2 separate regions of the Homo sapiens genome follow, and region 1 is linked to region 2. Evidence: promoter capture Hi-C in 16 types of primary human blood cells and fetal thymus (Javierre and others, 2016). All regions are on one chromosome and are shown on one strand. Each heading gives the region's core, a stretch centred on a gene start or on the middle of the fragment in contact. The rest is flanking DNA. Distances are from core to core; before and after follow the strand shown. Region 1 overlaps CTNNA2 (catenin alpha 2). Region 2 holds the start of LRRTM1 (leucine rich repeat transmembrane neuronal 1).

The links. Contacts are between HindIII fragments. The CHiCAGO score rates a contact against its expected background, and 5 or more counts as called.
Region 1: a fragment that was not itself captured here is called in contact with the fragment with the promoter of LRRTM1 in region 2 in 1 of 17 cell types (endothelial precursors); the score reaches 5.3 in endothelial precursors.

The regions. Positions count from the first base shown.
Region 1 is chr2:80,515,707-80,518,406 of GRCh38, reverse strand. The region is part of intron 9 of CTNNA2 (catenin alpha 2); the gene reads right to left. Among named protein-coding and RNA genes, the nearest start is that of LRRTM1, 210 kb to the right of the region's middle. The HindIII fragment of the contact is 1,981 bases long and covers 302-2,282 here.
Region 2 is chr2:80,303,414-80,306,113 of GRCh38, reverse strand. It overlaps LRRTM1 (leucine rich repeat transmembrane neuronal 1), which reads left to right and starts at 1,362. Exons shown (of 2, transcript NM_178839.5): 1 at 1,362-1,962; 2 at 2,236-2,700. The coding sequence starts at 2,295. All of the region lies in intron 7 of CTNNA2 (catenin alpha 2), which reads right to left. RefSeq lists an enhancer at 1,920-2,545. The HindIII fragment of the contact is 8,902 bases long and covers 1-2,700 here.

The DNA.
Region 1 (2,700 bases), core at 43-2,542, 210 kb before region 2:
AATGTTCTTGGACAGTTGGAGACGTCCCAGTGTAATAACCAAAATCTGTGCTTCTGTGGGTGTAGGAAGAAGGGGAGAACTTGACAGATTGGGGAAATGATGTTCCAATACCAGAAGACCAGACTGATCCAATTATTCCATTATAACATTCCACATCCACTAGAGATCATCAGCTCACTCTGCTTTTAACTAAATAATATTTCATCATTTACTTAACTGAATATGAAAAATATGCTTGAAGAATCACCTCAATAATCCATTGAGATTTCAAATTGTCAAATCACAGATCAAATTCAAAGCTTTTAATATAAATGTCTTTGAGTGAAGGACAGCATTTCCAGCTATCTGCAGTCTAATGGCAAGTCTGGTGTCTTGCCTTGGAGCAAATGCTTGCATTTACTGCCCGTCACCTGAAGGTGTTTTACTTGTAATCCCTAGAAATAGCATACTTTAGGGATGTGAATTCTGGCAAATATCTGGTTAGTGTGATCCATACTGACAAGCCAATGTTTTCAATACACTCTGATCATAAAATGAGTTTCCTGGATCAGTAAAGTAATCATGCAGACCAAGTTTAGGCAACAAACAGTAAAATAAATATTGTCCAGAAAATGACTCAGTGTTGATGCAATGCAAAAAGCCTCCAATGTTATTAAAACGATTTGGGGTTATGTGGCCCAAAACTTGTCCTGAGCACCATTTTGTGGCAGGATTCCCCAATATTACTCTCGGCTCTAGACATTCTCTCTACAAGTTCCTCAATGAACACTTCCTTGACATCACCCATCCCCTAGGAATGTTCCTTGCCTGGCAAAAGGTATACAGTTACACAAGATTAATAGACGCCTGTAAGTGGTCCTGTCATCCTTTAACTCAAAGGAGTAACTCCTACAGATAAGGTCAAGGACTGGGGCCAGCAGAACAGTGCACAGCTGGGCCCCAGGGCAACTTACATACTTCCTCCATGGCAGCAGCAGACCACTGTGATTACAGACAAGGCAAATTCTTGGTGGGAAGAGTGAAAGCAAGGCACCCTTTGCAGTGCCCCTGAGCAAATCCATCCGTGGTCCCCACCTTCCCCAATCATTACAAGTTAACTGCTCCTTTTCCTCCTGATACTGCTGATGGGAAATGAGCCTCCAGGGCTGACAGCCAAAAATTAATTTGATCGATTTATTTTGTGTTCCATGTTTTGGGTGCAAATGCTTTCCTCCACCCTGATGGAGCACACTTATGCTCTCCCATTTGCAGAAAACAAATTTATAGTGCCTAACTGAATTCTTTCGCTGAAGGTCAGAAACAAATGTTCCCATCCATCTCTTTTTACCTTTCTGTGCAGCACCAAGTTGCCTTCCTTCTTCATTTCAGACAAACAGGAGGATTGTTTTCTGGGGAGGGGTGGGGTGAGAGAAAGCAATTGGAACTTAGAAGTTTCTACCAAAAACAAAACTTAACTTACCCCTCATGAGAGGAATGAAGCAAAGAAATAAAAATCTCTTCTGATTTCACATGGAAGAGAAAACTTCAGTTATGCCTTAACTCAAGTAAAAAGAACACCATTAGGTAAGGACTATTAATTTACCGTTGTTAGAAAAGTGGAATCTGGCACTTAATTTGTCTGTATTTCTTGCTCACTTGAGACCAAATTCTGTCCTTGGCAGGTAACTTCCAAAGACTACAGAGAGAACTAAACATAGATGATCAGGACTGTGAATGGTTAATCCTGTTTTCTCAGGGTATAAACTAACTCTGCATTAAGATGAATAGTTTTCAGGTGTTGCTTAACACTAAAAAAGTTCACATGTTCCTGAGAAAGAAAAGTTGATATTCTCAGCCCCTGCCACGTGCTTAACCATGTTTGAAAAATGACCTCCTCCCCTCAGCCAGAGTTAATCTTGGACCTATTTGAGGTGCTTTGAGGACCAGATGGGGAGCATTAATGGGGAGAGGCAGAGCTGTGTAGGGTGAGACAAGTAGGAAGCTCATTTGCAGCCAGTCACCCTGGCCTGCACAGGTACCCAGCTGAGGCAAAACGGTAAGGACCGCATGGAAATCACATAGCTTCTGCGGCTTTTATGTAAATAGCATCCTACATATGGGTAACAAACACCATTCTGTTATCTTCCATCTCTCTGCTTCTGCCCTGAGAAAAAAACCCAATGTTGCTTAGATATTCATGGCATGAGGTGGCCAAAGGCAAGATGCATATTAGCCAATCAGCTCAGTCTGGACACAAAGGCTTTCCTGAGCACATCCCCTTCCTGCCCCAGAGATGTTAAGCTTGGGTGGCTTCACACACTCTGCCTCAGGGAGATATGTTCTGCATAATGAATCCCACTGTTGTCCGTAATGAGAAGGAGGTCATCTATACACTTGACCTGAAAGGAGTAGAGAAAGAGAGAGAGAAGAGACAGAATAGTGTGAAAGAGAGGTGGATAAGGAAAAACACACCCAGACCTTAGCAAAAACCATCAAAACTGGTTCCTTTGATCTGGATTTGGGCAAGTTTTTGTCCCATCTGTAAGGATGAAACAGACATGCAATTCAGTGATACTGAGGCTTTTGCCATTCATATGGAATCTGAAGCCTCAATTGATTTCGGCTGAAGCCACCAGACCTTGGCCATCATCCCCTTCTGCTTTATTTTCCACAAAGCAGAGCAAGAAGTAAATTAGGTCTTCAGTTTCTATGTTTCTTTAC
Region 2 (2,700 bases), core at 113-2,612:
GACTTTTCCTGAAAAGTACCACCAGTCTTTGGTGACTTTGATTCCATTGGTTGGCCTCTTCAGCTTAGATGCTAAGGACCAATCCAGTTACTTGTCCAGTCTATCTACCCTGGCTCTGGTAATCCACCCTCATTCCTATCAAAGTAAGTGCCACTACATATAATGCCTACTGATTTTGACTTCCTTAGAGGCAGAAACGATGGGAATTCAAACAGTGGAGCTGGAGACTCACATTTGACTCTCCCTACCATCTCCCTGGGCATCTTTGTCAAGAAGGAAGGCTTGCCCACACTCACTTCCCGCAGGCTTTCTCAGCCATCTTGGAGGACTTTGTTTAAACAGATGACCAACTGACCCTCCCCAGGGCAGACCCTCTACAGACCAGTAGGCACAAGGTGTGTGTGTGGGGAGGTGGGGGGAGAGCTCATTGTAAGGACTCCTATCTATAAATGATTATGAATAGAAATAATGAGGCAAAGGCTTCTCGTCATACTCAGAGGAAAAAGTGGCACAACTTAGTGCAGTCTCAAAGATTAATTAGGATGTGTGTATGGAGACGGGTAGGCTTCATTATGGCTTAAACTATCACGTCCCTACACATTCACACTCTCTTGGAGTGGGGTGCACTGCAGGGCCCAGTAATCACCATGAACAGCACAAGTCAGGGTAAGCCCTCCCCATGTCAGACAGTACAATCGTTCTTTAATCCACTCTGTACCCCATATGTATCTGTGGAGCCTGATGAAGCCCCGGAGGGATCTCAGTCAAGTCTCCCTGCACACAGACATACCTTTTTGCCACACTGGATCTCACACCACCGGGACTTGGATGGCTTCCCAAACTAGGTGGGTTTGGAAAGCATTTCCCCTCTCCACCTCAAAAAAGGGCTGGCTGACTGCAGAATTCCAGTACCCGCAAGAGGGGGAAAAAACCCCAAAAATCTTAGCCAAGCCCCAAATCATTGCCTTCCTGTGTCTTCTCTCAAGTTGCTTTTCTAAAGCAAAGGTCCAAACGTTGATTTCTCTACAGATTCCTACGTATCTCTTACACGTAGACAGTTTTAAAGGGGAAAAGAATATATCCCCAAAAGGCAAGGGGGAGAGCACAGAACATTTCAGTTTCCCACTTGGAAATATCTTGTCGTGGATGATGCTACCCCTACCTCCACCTCCCTCCCCCCTCCTTTTTTTTTTTTTTTTTTTTTTTGAAATATGGACAAAAAAGCTGAAAGTGTTTTCCGTTTCATCAAAAAACATATATTACTTTAGTGGTTCGGTAAAATGTTGGTTTTATGCCCACCCCTTTTCAATCTGCCCATGTCTGAGGTGCTCGGGGAAGACGCACAATCGTGAGCAGCTTACGACACTCAGTGAGCAGTAGGTGCCTGTGCAAGCTCGCGCCGCACACTGCCTGGTGGAGGGAAGGAGCCCGGGCGCCGCTCGCCGCTCCCCGCGCCGCCGTCCGCACCTCCCCACCGCCCGCCGCCCGCCGCCCGCCGCCCGCAAAGCATGAGTGAGCCCGCTCTCTGCAGCTGCCCGGGGCGCGAATGGCAGGCTGTTTCCGCGGAGTAAAAGGTGGCGCCGGTCAGTGGTCGTTTCCAATGACGGACATTAACCAGACTGTCAGATCCTGGGGAGTCGCGAGCCCCGAGTTTGGAGTTTTTTCCCCCCACAACGTCACAGTCCGAACTGCAGAGGGAAAGGAAGGCGGCAGGAAGGCGAAGCTCGGGCTCCGGCACGTAGTTGGGAAACTTGCGGGTCCTAGAAGTCGCCTCCCCGCCTTGCCGGCCGCCCTTGCAGCCCCGAGCCGAGCAGCAAAGTGAGACATTGTGCGCCTGCCAGATCCGCCGGCCGCGGACCGGGGCTGCCTCGGAAACACAGAGGGGTCTTCTCTCGCCCTGCATATAATTAGCCTGCACACAAAGGGAGCAGCTGAATGGAGGTTGTCACTCTCTGGAAAAGGGTGGGTAAGACACTTTTTAATTAAATTCTTTCCCGAAGATTTTTTTTTTCCTCCCTTTTCTTTGCTGCAGCATCTAACATGGACCAAATCACCATCTCTTTGATCTTTCCGTGGCTGTGAACTTTCTATGCTGCCCAGCTTTCTGCATGCTTAGAGGTGAACGTGTGGTTTTTGGGGAGGGGGGTCCTTCTTTATTTCTATGTATTTATTTGATTTTTTGCCCTTTTCTCCCCCTCCCCCGCTTCCCCTCCCTCGGAATAAAATATGATGTAGATTTCTGACCGAGCGCTTCCAATGGACATTCTCCAGTCTCTCTGGAAAGATTCTCGCTAATGGATTTCCTGCTGCTCGGTCTCTGTCTATACTGGCTGCTGAGGAGGCCCTCGGGGGTGGTCTTGTGTCTGCTGGGGGCCTGCTTTCAGATGCTGCCCGCCGCCCCCAGCGGGTGCCCGCAGCTGTGCCGGTGCGAGGGGCGGCTGCTGTACTGCGAGGCGCTCAACCTCACCGAGGCGCCCCACAACCTGTCCGGCCTGCTGGGCTTGTCCCTGCGCTACAACAGCCTCTCGGAGCTGCGCGCCGGCCAGTTCACGGGGTTAATGCAGCTCACGTGGCTCTATCTGGATCACAATCACATCTGCTCCGTGCAGGGGGACGCCTTTCAGAAACTGCGCCGAGTTAAGGAACTCACGCTGAGTTCCAACCAGATCACCCAACTGCCCAACACCACCTTCCGGCCCA